Linked DNA regions of Homo sapiens: region 1 is linked to region 2. Evidence: promoter capture Hi-C in 16 types of primary human blood cells and fetal thymus (Javierre and others, 2016). All regions are on one chromosome and are shown on one strand. The core of a region is centred on a gene start or on the middle of the fragment in contact, and the rest is flanking DNA. Distances in the headings are between cores, read along the strand shown. Region 1 overlaps FNDC3A (fibronectin type III domain containing 3A). Region 2 holds the start of ATP7B (ATPase copper transporting beta).

Evidence for each region. Contacts are between HindIII fragments. The CHiCAGO score rates a contact against its expected background, and 5 or more counts as called.
Region 1: a fragment that was not itself captured here is called in contact with the fragment with the promoter of ATP7B in region 2 in 1 of 17 cell types (fetal thymus); the score reaches 6.5 in fetal thymus.

The regions. Positions count from the first base shown.
Region 1 is chr13:48,978,632-48,985,295 of GRCh38, reverse strand. The region is part of intron 1 of FNDC3A (fibronectin type III domain containing 3A); the gene reads right to left. Among named protein-coding and RNA genes, the nearest start is that of FNDC3A, 6.1 kb to the right of the region's middle. The HindIII fragment of the contact is 1,392 bases long and covers 4,228-5,619 here.
Region 2 is chr13:52,006,334-52,012,941 of GRCh38, reverse strand. ATP7B (ATPase copper transporting beta) reads left to right here and starts at 1,492. Exons shown (of 21, transcript NM_000053.4): 1 at 1,492-1,655. The coding sequence starts at 1,605. It overlaps ALG11 (ALG11 alpha-1,2-mannosyltransferase), which reads right to left and starts at 544. Exons shown (of 4, transcript NM_001004127.3): 1 at 480-544. The coding sequence starts at 523. RefSeq lists enhancers at 286-375, 426-555 and silencers at 676-775, 786-895, 946-1,285. The HindIII fragment of the contact is 3,430 bases long and covers 15-3,444 here.

The DNA of each region.
Region 1 (6,664 bases), core at 3,674-6,173, 3.0 Mb after region 2:
ATAGTATTCCTTCAAAACTTAACAGGCTACCTATATTTCTACCTCTATAAATTTCCTGCTTACATTCTTTCCCATTTTCTATCAGGTTATCTTTTTCATATTGATTTGTAGGTACACCTTATATACCTTGAATATTAATTTTGTCTATTACATGTCGAATATTTTATCCCAGTCTATTGCTTGCCTTCCTTTTTAAATGGCATCTAAGTTTGATGTCTCACTTAAAAGGCCTTCTCTACTCCAACGAGTTTTTAAATTAACTTTTAAAAGTTTTGTCATTTTATTTTTTATTTATCAACATTTAGTCCACTCGGGGCTGGGCACAGTGGCTCACGCCTGTAATCACAGCACTCTGGGAGGCTGAGGCGAGCAGATCACAAGCTCAAGAGATCGAGACCATCTGGACAACATGGTGAAACCCCGTCTCTACTAAAAATACAAAAATTAGCTGGGCGTGGTGGTGGGCACCTGTAATCCCAGCTACTTGGGAGGCTGAGGCAGGAGAATCGCTTGAACCTGGGAGGCGGAGGTTGCAGTGAGCCGAGATCACGCCACTGCACTCCAGCCTGGTGACAGAGCGAGACTCCATCTCAAAAATAAATAAATAAATAAAAATAAAAAACCATTTAGTCCACCTGGAACTTAGTTTTGAGAGTGTCACGAAGTGGGTACCTAACTATCTTTACTTCAATTAAACAGTTGATTGTCCCACACCCTTTATAGACCAGTTCTTCCATTACTCATTCATTTATCATACAATTCTTCTTTATCCATGTTTATCTATGGATCTTCTCCTGAATTTATTATTCTATTCCTTTGATCAATATGCCTATTCCTACTCCAAATTCTTATTTTAATAATTGTAATTTTATAATGTTTCGACCTTTGATGGGTCCCATTTATTATACTTCTTTTTGAAATTTACTTGGCCATTCTTGTGCATGCTCCCTTCTCAAAACTTGAACCATCAGTTTGTCAAATTCCATTTTAAAACTCCTGTTGAATTTCTGATTAGAACTGCATTGACTTTATAGAATAATTTAGTAAAAGCTGTCATTTTTATGGCATTAAGTTGACACATTCATGAATACTCCTCCATCCATTCACATCTTTTTGCAGTTTTCTTCACATAGCTATTACACATTTTAAAATCTTAAGTATTTTATAGTTTAGGCTGCTACTTCTTATTACTGTATTTCATAGTTGGTTATTGTTGATATATAAGAAGGCTAATGAATTTTCTAACTTTATCTTATAGCCAATCAGCTTACTGAAATTTTTTAATACAAATCTTTTTCTGTTATCTCATATTTTTTTGCTATTTGTATTTGTATTATATTTATTTGTATTTGTAAGCAGTCATATCAACTCTAAATAATAGTGATACATTTCCCCCCTTTATTTACAGGTTAATTATTTTTCTTGTTCTTAATGTATTGCCTAAGACTTTTGAACCAATGTTGTGTTCCTATCTATTAATGAAAGTGCTTCTATTATTACTCTATGACATTTGGTGATAATAGTATCTACCGCAGAGAGATGTTTTAAGGCTTAAGTAAACTGATACATATAAAGTTTTTTGCAATAGCACCCAGAATACAGAAAGTGTTTAATGCCTATTAATCATATTATTTACTAAGTGCCTTTTATTTGTCAAGCACAAATAAAAGTATATGCATGCACCATTGCAGAGGTTGGCAAACTAAAGCCTGTGGGCCAAATCTGGTCTGCTGCCTAGTTTCGTAAATGAAGTTTAATAGGAACACAGTCATGCCCATTGTTTATAATTTATCTATGGCTGTTTTTGTGCTCCTGTAGCACAGTTTAAGTAGTTGCAACTGAGCCCATATGGTCCACAATGCCTAAAATATTTACTACCTTCTCTTATATTAAAAAAGTTGCTGACTCCAGTAGTACTGGTCAAACTCAAGGAGTTCATAGTTGAATAGCTGATTTAGACAAGTAAAAAATATATATACATTACAGTATGATATATACAACCCAGATATTCTGTGGGTATTATGGAAACATTTTGCATTTAAATATTAAAAGACAGGAAGGACTCACACAAGTGAAAAGACACAAGATATTTTAATTATTTAAAAATATGTATTTATTTACATATCATTATCTCTCATCCCATTCTGTAAATTTCTAAAGGGGAGGGAGTGTGACATTCATTTTTGTGACATTCAACATTCATATTCTAAGTATCTAGGACATTTTAAATGTTCAACAAATGATAGGCAAATGAATAAATGAATGATATGCAGGATGCCTGAGTGACAATGATTAGGTATGTCTGTCAAAGTTCTAGATATAAATATCCTATGGCAAGCATTTTACTTGTCATGTTAAATAGGATCTTTTAATTCTTGTACAGTCTATATTAGGAGATAGCTACTATTATTACTACACTGTAAAATGAACGAACCAAGGCTCATACAGGTAAAGTAGCACACTCATGTTTCTATACAGCCAGTATGAGAAGTCAACTAACAATCCTGTGGCTGCCTAATGAGAAATATGTTCTCTACACTATATCACAAAGTTGTAAAGAGGTAAGAAATGATGACACAATAGGATATCAACAGAGTATGGACTCTCAAAGACAAAGGAAATTATAATTAATGCAGCAGGAATTGTATTGTGATTTCGATTTCTAAAACTGGGGAATGATCTGAATAAATTCATGTTTTTTAAATATCCTGGAAGCAGCCTAAAAGATGGTTAGAGGGGCAGTAGCCCCTACATTTTACCCAAAGGCTACTCTGTCACACACACTAGGCCAGTTTTAGTAAGGTTCAAGTGATTAAAACAAAAATGCGAACATACTATTTCAGGAATACCAATCTGAAGCATCAGGAAAAGCTGATCCTAATAGTTACTAAAGAAACAAAAAGGTACTTCATAAACTATGAAGGTACTATGCTAAAAATTTTTTTTAGGTATATATTACAAATGAAAATATTACATGGAAAAAAATCAAGTCATAAGAACAAAGACATAATTGAGAATGTCTGTCTTAAGAAAACAAAAAAAATTTAGAAAATTTAAACATAAAATCGCAAATTATGAATTTTCACTTTTTATTTAAGCAAATCTTAAGAAAAACTGATTTTAAAGTAAATGAAATGACTAATCCTTCAAGTTATGGCTCAACAAAAGTAGTTGCTGTATATGGCATATACTTCTATAAAGCAAAGCACGTAATTACTTTCTAATAAAAGTCTAAACTGTGATTTAAAGTGTACTTAAATATCTGTTTAGAACCCCTAGAGAAGTAAGATTTTTTTGCCTCCCAAATTATGTGTCTGTCGGTTTAGAATATACATAAACCAATTAAAGTAATCCCTCACTGAAGAAGTAGTGAAGCGAAATCATTTAAGTTTTTAAAAGTTCAAATATATATTAAAATATGGATTCTGAGGAAAGAAAACAGATACAACACTTTTTTTTCCCCCAGCATTTCTGATAGAGGCTGATTAACATACACAATCTAATTTACCAAACTTAGGTAACTTTTACACCAAGGCTTACTTCAAAGTATACATTGCACTTTGTATTTCTAGCAACTAGCACATAAGAGATCTCAAGAAGTGAAGGAGAAAGAGATATGGAAGTCAATCAGAAGTATAGTTCATCTGTAAAATGAGAATACCACCACATATCTGGCAGGTTTGTATAGGATTTTAAAAATAAGCAAGTATAGGTTCTAAAATTCAATGAGCTCAACTGAATGTTTACTGGAAACATACTATGTTTACAGAACTTTGGAGGATAAAGCTTGAACTCTGGTCTTAAAAAAAAAAAAAGGCTGCATTGCTTCCAATATAGTAGCATTAATGTAAGCACTTTTATGGTATGTATTTTAATGCTTTTATAGTTTCCAACATCTCTGTGGGTTCTCACAATATCTTTGAGGAAAACAGGATAGATATTATTCTCTATTTTAATGCTTAGAAAACCAAGATTGCAAGAAACTAACCCAAAATCATATAGGTAATAAGTGGTGAAGTTAGAACTAAGAACTAGACTTTTGAGTCACCATCCAAGGTACTTTAATTTACCTCTTGTTTAGCAAATGGAAACAGCTGGCATGGTGAAGCTGTTTCAAGCATTCACAAAAAAAGAGGGAGGGCATGAATTTCTCCTTAAACTAAAATTTAAAAAGTAAAAATTGTATTAAGTAGCAATTTATGAAGGCTGTTATTTAAATCAAAAGCTTTATATTGCCTTAAAATTACGGTACTGTATGTACTAAGTATGAAAAATGCTAATAATAAATTAAAGTACAAAAGTTAAGTTTCATGATTTTGTTTGGTTGGTTTTAATGTTTTTAACAGGAAGAAAGAAGCATCACTGATTCTGTCCAGGTTGCTTCCCATCTTATACATCTGTACTTTTTCCAGCACCTAATACTAACCCTGATATATGGAATGTACTGATGCCTGCTTAATGAAAAAATGCTCTCATGATGTATTCTTGCTCTCTTGATGCCACAAAAAATACAGTTGCCCCAGCCAATTGATTTGTGCAGCCACAGCGTGAGGCATCACTATTCACCTGGTAATGGCACATGAACCACAGTATACTGAAGGAAACAGAACTGCCTTAGAAATAGATATCTATAAATTTAGAAACTTCAGAGATGTTTCATGTAAATTACTTTTCAAAACAGCTGATACTTATATCCTTTAAATCACCATAACTTATCTTAAAAAAATCTTAATTATTTGTAAAGAGATCTCTAGGTCTTTCTTCCGTGCCTTAATGTGCACATGATATAATCTTTTCTTGATGACTCAAGCTCATCAATGTAAATATCAATTATTAGACTGTTCCATAACAGAGTGATTCTTTCTGGAGTACTGCAGAATGTCCAACTGCTTGTCCCTTTATTAACTCATCCTAGACTACTTCTAAAAACAAAGATCCCTACTGCCTGCTCCTCTGTTGTCACTTACAGACCACCAGCATCCTAGACAAGGTTTTTAACCTGCCAGCTGTTTTTAAAAATGTAAAACCAGCACAGGCAGTTGATACACCTAACCTTATACAAATTCTAAATCAAGCCACTGTGTAGCTATTTTCACTGTAGTAAGGCCTGACTCAAAGGCTTTTCGTCTTTCACTTCCTAATTCTGAGACCTATTCTAGGCTCTTGTTAGAAGTCTGGCCACAAAATAACAATTACAGAAGCACTTATTTCTACATACTTTTTTTTTAGGATAACATAAGGAAAAATATATACATGATAGTCATAAAACGCCCAAACCACCATATAGACAAGATGATGCAAGAAATTTCACAGTATGTGCTATATGGACAATTACTTTGCCAATTATTACCTAGCAGTCAGCAAACTAGGTCCCCTGGCCAAATCCAGTCCACAGATGGCTTGTTTTTGTTTGGCTCTTGAGACAACAATGTAAAAATTTTTACGTTTTTAAAAGATTATAAAAAACTAACAAACAAACAAGAACATTCAACCGAGACTGTAAATGGCCTGCAAAACCTAAAATATTTAATTATCTAGCACTCTACACAAAAAGTTGGCCGACCCCTGACCTAAGCCATACAAACAAACACATATAAGCTATCCATTATACATAAAGCTTAAGCTATTAATATGTCAAAGCTGAGGTATAGTTCTTTCAGTGATAGGTTCCTAATGATACAAACTGTCTTGTCCAGCTCTGCCTATTTTCCTCTTCTGATGCCCTGGTGCTTAAGCTAACATCTCGACCTAACTTTCTTTCTTTCTTCGTCCCAATTTCTGTCCTTGGATGCTCTTGGACTACTTATTCTACTACTACTTCCAACTCTGCCTGTGAATCTCTTTTGGAATGCCTTTCCTTTTGTTATCTAAATCATTTCTAAGTTTCCTCTGACTCCCTCCAAATGCCTTCCAGGATTGTTCTAGCTCTCACTGGCTTCACTTCCCTTTAAATTCCAGTTGGTGTCACACAACTTAATAATACCATATTATAATTTTTGCTAATGATACTATTAGTCTAGTACCCCCAACTAATTTGTAAACTACTTGAAGGAAGGAAGACATCACACTATGTTTGTATCCCCACTTTAATAACATTGCATCACCCTGCAAGCACATGACATCTCCCAGGTGTAGTTCTCAATCTTGGAGGAAAAAATAGCCCAAGGACTGGTAATGGGTGATAAGTGATTGGAAACATTGAAAGATGACACCCACAAAGGAACTTGATGGAAGACCACAGGTTACACAGAAAACTTGAAAGTATATATTAAAGACAAGCAAAACCACAACAGTGGGAAGACAGAAAGGTAAGAATAAAGATATAAAAAGAGACCACTGAATAATTATCTGAAATAAGACCAAAATATTAAGAAAATTATAAAAGCTCACAATACATGTAAAAGTACAAAATTTGCCTTTCAACATTAATGGCCACTAATTTCGTTTTAACAAGTAGTTTTTGACATTCACACATATGGGAGCCATATTTCTTGTTTTGCAATGTGATAAACTGAAGCAGTAAAAGGCTCAATGGAATAAATATGCACCATATTCTAAACCTTCGGAATTACAATATTGTGAGTTTATTTGAAGTCCGCTAGGCAATGCTAAAAACAAAACAAAAAAAACAAAAGCAAACAAAAAAAAACCAGAAACACTAATC
Region 2 (6,608 bases), core at 243-2,742:
ATTCAACATAAGCTTTATATTTAAGTGACGTGTTAACAATGGCAGTTTTGGTGAGTTTAAGAGTAGAAACTAAGATGAGAAGGAAGATCCGGTTTCTTCTTTACCGAAAAGAGACATGATAGATTGGAAAATGTCTCGTGGCTCAATCGTAAAGAAAAATAAGGAATGAATATGAATAATTTATGACAGACTAACTGGAGTGTGAAAGGGAAAAAAAAAGCTGAAGCAGGGAAGGGAACTCGACCCCTCGGCCAACAGTGAAGCAGAAGAAAACGCGGTAAATTGAGTCTTTAAGACCTAGTCTATTCCAGTCTATATAGAAGACCCCCAAGAAAAAGAAAGACTGCTCATTGGCCTGAGAAATTACCTTAGATTCATGACAAGGAAGGCCATTTGCCCGCAAAATTTAGCTACACTGGACGGGCAAGTACCCCTACAGAAGAGAAAACGTCTGTGAGCCCACACGACCGGCTGCTCACCTCAACAACTTGCACAGGCACCAGCTCCTTTCGCCGGCCGCCATCTTCCGCCGACCCCCGAACTCAGGAAACGCTTCACTTTCCTTTTCCCTATTGGCTCCTGAGAAAGCAAGCCGTGCTCGCCCCGCCCCCACGGGCCAATTGTGCGTTACTATTGGTTACTGGTAGCCGCTTCCCACGGCCTTCCAGCCAATAGAATATGCCGAGGCGTAGACTAGTGTTCGGCGTGGCGCACACGGCTCCCGCCCCCGTGGGCGGGACAGCAGTGGGGGGTTGGGCTGAGGAGGGCGTGGCCTGTGATTGACAGCCGTCGCTCCCTCCCTCGGCCACCTCCCCCACTAGAAGCCCCCGCCTGGGCGCCTGCGCCCCCGTTCCCGGCCCAAAGCCCGCCGCCCGTTGGAGGCCATTGGCTGGCCTTTGCGCACAGCGGATCGATTTTCCAGGTGCGGAGTTCACTCTTGCCGCGGTTGCTTCCTTTGGGACCCACGGCGTCCGGCAGCCAGGCGCAGAGTCCGAGGAGGGGGCAGCGCAGAGCGGACCCGACGCGGCGCCGCCGGGCACCTTCCCCGCAGGCGGTGGGTGAGCCCTGGGAGCTGAGTCTGCGGCCCGGCTCTGCGCAGCTCACCTGCCCTCCCGCTCCCGCACACGCGTGAGATCCCAGTACAGTGTCGGAGCGCACCAGCGCGAGGTGGCCGAGACCGCGGAGGAGGACAGGCCTCCGCCCTGCGGCGCCGGCACGGCAGAGGACATTGTGGCACTGGCACGGCAGAGAACACTGTGGCACCGGCGGGGCCGGCAGTTCCAGGGTGGGCACTCCCAGCCACCTGGGGAGTGGGCGAGGGTCCGAGGCCCACTCTCCCCTCACGCTCTCATCCCCGTGCCCCCAGGTCGGGAGGACGGCGGCGCGCAACTTTGAATCATCCGTGTGAAGAGGGCTGCGGCTTCCCCGGTCCCAAATGAAGGGGCGGTTCCCGGACCCCTGTTTGCTTTAGAGCCGAGCCGCGCCGATGCCCTCACACTCTGCGCCTCCTCTCCCGGGACTTTAACACCCCGCTCTCCTCCACCGACCAGGTGACCTTTTGCTCTGAGCCAGATCAGAGAAGAATTCGGTGTCCGTGCGGGACGATGCCTGAGCAGGAGAGACAGATCACAGCCAGAGAAGGGGCCAGTCGGAAAGTGAGTTTTGTTCCCCCGCGTCCGCGCAGCGTGCTCACTCCCACCAGGAGGATTTTCCTCCCCGCGTTCGGCGCTTACTCGCCCCCAGGGGGTGCGCAGGGAAGGCCGAGCCAGACCCCAGCTCCAGGGATGTCTTGGCGTGGGAGAAAAGGACCCTTTAGAAAAAGTGTGCCGTCAACTGATGTTTGGGAGCAATGGAAAACCCCGCACCTCAAAATTCATCTTTATGCTTTTAAGGGGTCTGATGCTGGAGAGATAAAGTGAGCGTCGAGTTGCTGTGCTAGAGCCCTAATGGCTCAAAACGATGAAGTTAGTTACCTGGAGAAGTTACTCAGAGCCTGGTGCTTGGACCAGATATGGTATATCGAGGTCCTGGAACTTTTATAACTGTTTTAAATTCATTTTAATTGTACAAGTAATACATTAAGACAGTCTTTTAAAAATGGAAACAGCACAGAAATATTTTGCACAAAAAGCAGATCTATTTTTCAGTCTTTTTCTATTCACGTACATATGTCTTCATTCGGCAAATATTTATTGAGAACTTTCTATGTTTCAGGCACACAGTGTTGAGTTGATACAGTGGTTAACAAGACATGTATCTATATGTAATATGCACACATTCAGAGAAATCTTTAGGTTTCATTTGTATGAGGTGTTAAAATTTTTGTTTTACCTAAATGAGATCACTGTATGTGCATTCTCTTTTTTCAGTTTAACGATATATCTTAGAGATTGTTTCACTAACTGTCTAATTCAGTGCAACCTCTGCACAGTTTGGACGCATCATAGTTTATTCATGGTTTCCTAGTGGTGGACGTTCTGTTTGCTACTTTTTTTCTCTCTCTCTTGCAAGTGAACATCTTTGTACATGATTTTTAATGCTGACACTATTTCTTTAGGATAGATACTTAGGCCTGGATTGCTGGACAGAACAGTAGGCTGTTTCTTTTCCACAGATTTCTGAAACTAATTCACTGACGTTGCTGGGTGCCCTTTAGTAGTGAATTCATCTAGGCTCCGGTGATACAGAAATGAAAACTAACGGATTAGTGGACAGACAGAGAGAGGCTGGTTAGTAGGTGGTTTGTAGGGTATGATGACTATGCATTTGATAGGAGTATGAAGAAATGTTGGGAGGGGTGGCTTGTACAGAGGAGATTTCAACTTCCTACAGTGTCCCCACCTAGAGAAAGAAATCATTATCCTTCCAAATCAAGCTCAAGACCTGCCACCTCCTTGAAACGTTCTGTAACTGCTCCTGCCCATGTTGACCTGTCTTCTGGAATCCTCTGATAATAGCGTTGACCAGCGTTATTGAGCTTACTGTGTGCTGGGCATTGTGTTAGGCACTCATATCCCTCTATGTGCACTCTCGCGTTTAATCCTCACAAAAACCCTTTGATGTAGGTATTATATCTTGTTATCAACATTTATTCAACAAATTTTTTTGTGTGTACTATGTGCTCAAACACATAGTACTCAAAGTTTTAGACACTGGGGATTTAGGTAGGACCGAGACCTTGCCCTCATGAATTTACATCCTAGTTGGAGATAGGAAAAAAAAAGGGATAAACAAATGTATAGCGTAGGAGTTAAGGGAAAACTTTTGTGCCCCGTGAAGCGTCACTGAAAAATCAACTGACAAATGGCAGATTAATAGGAGAGAAGGCATACACATTTACTAACGTGCCGTGAGAGTCTTACAACATAAGATCTCAAAGGAAGGCAAGGTGGTTGCCACAATTATACTATCCTGAGGTTACAGAAAGTGTGGGGGCTCTAAGCTTGGCCAAAAACAGGTTATGGTTGTAAATCAGGTTATAGGAGGGAGAGAAGAGGAGACCTGGCTAGCAAAGGTGGTCTTATGTAGATGAAACCTCACAGGTAGCAGCCCTCAGGGAGAAGAAATGTTTCAGACCTTGAAGGTGCCAAATTCAGCTAATCTCACCCAGATCCAGACAAGGAAGGGCCCTCTGAGAAAAACTGGCTGCGTCAATGGAGGTTCTCAACAGATGCTCATCTCCCTCACAGTAGGACTACTTTTGTCTGTAGGCCCTCTGAACGGCCATCTCAAAATATTTCCAATAAGTCTGTTTTGAGGTGAAATGTTTTAGTTTCCTTCAATAGCTTTATTTCAGGTACTAGTAAGTACTATGAAGAAAATAAAGCAGTTTGGGTCCAGGAGTTCAAGACCAGCCTGGCAGCATATCAAGACATCGTTTATACAAAAAAAAAAGAAAAATTAGCTGGGCATAATGGTGTGTGCCTGTCGAACCAGCTACTCGGGAGGCTGAGGCAGGAGGATGGCTTGAGCCCAGGAGTTTGAGGCTACAGTGAGTTGTGATCCCACCACTGCACTTCAGCCTGAGTGATAAAGCAAGATCCTGTCTCAAAAAAAAAGAAAAGAAAAGAAAGCAGAATAAGGGAATAAGATAGGGATTGACATGGGTGGAGAGGAAGATGCTGTTTTAAGTAGGTGGTCAGGGAATGATTTCTCTTGGAAGGTAGGATTTGAGTAGAGACCTGAATGATTCAGATTTCAGAGAAGTAGCCTAGGTTGAGAAACCATAAAGTGTGAGAGTCCTACGGCAGTCATGTGATAAGAAGAAATATATACTTGGTCTTGTCCCAAGTTCCTGACATAGAGCTTCTTAAACCGTTGTAATTTCCTGAGAGATGGTGATAAGAGCATCTTTTGTTATTCATAACAAGTCTCTTTCACCCCTACCTGAGTTTCTGTTAATGAGAGGGCTCTTGATAGGCCCCTAGATAGCTTCAGGATGGAGACTGATTGCCAGAAGAACCAACCATGTGATTAGGGGATTCGAATGTTCAGCCCCGTGCTCCAACCTCTGGAGATTGTGCCAATCACCAGTGGACAATGATCTAATCAGTGATGCCGGCAGAATAGAGCTTTCTTTAAATTTTTATTTATTTAGTTTTTTGAGAGGTAGTCTCACTCTGTTGCTAGGCTGGAGTGCAGTGGCGGGATCTCGGTTCACTGCAACCTGTGCCTCCCGGGCTCAAGTGATTCTCCGGCCTCAGCCTCCTGAGTAGCTGGGATTACAGGCGCACGCCACCACACCCAGCTAATTTTTGTATTTTTAGTGGAGACGGGGTTTCACCATGTTGGTCAGGGTCATCTCTATCTCTTGATCTCGTGATCCGCCCACCTCGGCCTCCCAAAGTGTTGGAATTACAGGCGTGAGGCCACTGTGCCTGGCCTTTTTTTTTTTAACCAATGCAGTGGATCACAAATAGAGCTTTCTTAAAAACCCTAAATGATGGGTTTTGGAGAGCTTCCTGTTAGTGAACACATCAAGGTGCTGGGAAGGTGGTTCCTGGAAAGGATATGGAAGCTCCTGGAAACCTCCATTCCCATATTTTGCCCTATCTTTTCCATGTGGTGGTTTCTTAGCTGTATTTTGTATAATAAACTGGTGATATTAAATAAAGTGCTTTCCTAAGTTCTGCGAGCTGTTCTAGCAAATTACCCAACCTGAGGAGGTAATTGTAGGAACCTCCTGACTTTACAGTTGGTCAGGAGTACAGATGGCCCAGACCCAGCGACTGGCATGTGAAGTGTGGGCATTCTTGTGGTCTTGTGGGCCTGAGCCCTTACCTGTGGGGTCCGTGCTAACTCCAGATGGTTGGTGTCGGAATTGAATTGAATTGTAGGGCACCCAGTTAGTGTCTGGAGAGAGAGCATTGGTTGGTGTGAAGAAAAACCCCACACATTTGGTGTCAGAAGTGTCGTGAGTGGAAACAGTACAGAAGACATGATGTTAGAGTTTGGGGAACAATAGGAAAGCCAGAGTGGCTGTGGCAGAGGGAAGGAGTGGGAGTGATAGAACAGGAGATCAGAGTTCATCATTGCTTTACAGATGGGGAAACTGAGCCAGACACAAGTTAAGTAACTTGCCCGATGTACCTTGCTTATAAGAGGCAGATCTAGGATTGAGTCCTAGCCAGGCCTGCCTGACTTTCTCAGCGATTTTTTATTGTCAAAACTTACTTGACACTTGGTCATACCACCTGGTATGATTATTTAATGAATATAGCTTTTATTTGCAACTCTGTGCTTCTTGAAATGGGAACCGGGTTTTTACCGTTTAAAAAACTATTTCCCACATGTAGGTGCACCACAGTTGTTCTTGAATGAATGGATTCTCGACATGATTTCTCCACATTGTTTTCTCTTCAGAGGCCTCTCTGTGGGGCAGCAGTGACCTGGTCATTCAGCCTTCAGTCCACAAACATTATGGAGCACTTTCTGTTTGCCTGGTACTGGGCCAAGCAGGGGGATGCATAGATGAAGAGAGGTCAGCCCCTGTGCTGGATGCATGCTGGGACAGAGCTGTCTACATGGTACAGCACCCACAGAAGGGGCAGAAAAATTCCTTCAGTGGGAGGTGGTGCTCGAGTGGGTCTTTCAGGAAGAGCAGGCATTGATTGGGCACACAGGAGCATGGAGAGAAGGGCATTGAAGGCAGAGACCAGCATGTATAAAGGTCCAGAGGACTGGAAATGGAAAGAGGCATTTAGGGGACTGTGAGGGGCGTGGCAAGGCTGGAAGAGTGGAAGGCTGGAAGGTCTGTGGAAGACCCTGTTTATCAGGCTAGGAGTTTGGACTTTACCCTACAGGAAAACAGCGTAAGTCACTCCTGCAAGGCAGAGGGTGAACTGGGCAGGGAGCTGCGGGAGACCAGCTAGAGACTGTTGGAAATGATCGTCCCCATCCAGACCAAAGGTGGCTGAAAAGCCTGAAAAAGAACTGTAAGTTGGGTCTTCTACCCTTATTCTTTATGGAATTGTCTTCTCAGTAGAGAAACTAGGCTATCCAAACTCAACTGTCCTGAGTATTAGAGGCCAGTGGTCGTTTTAGCAGCAACAGAGTGCAGTTGGTACCTACGGAGCAGGGTAATAAACTAAGCAAGTGACAGAGATGGA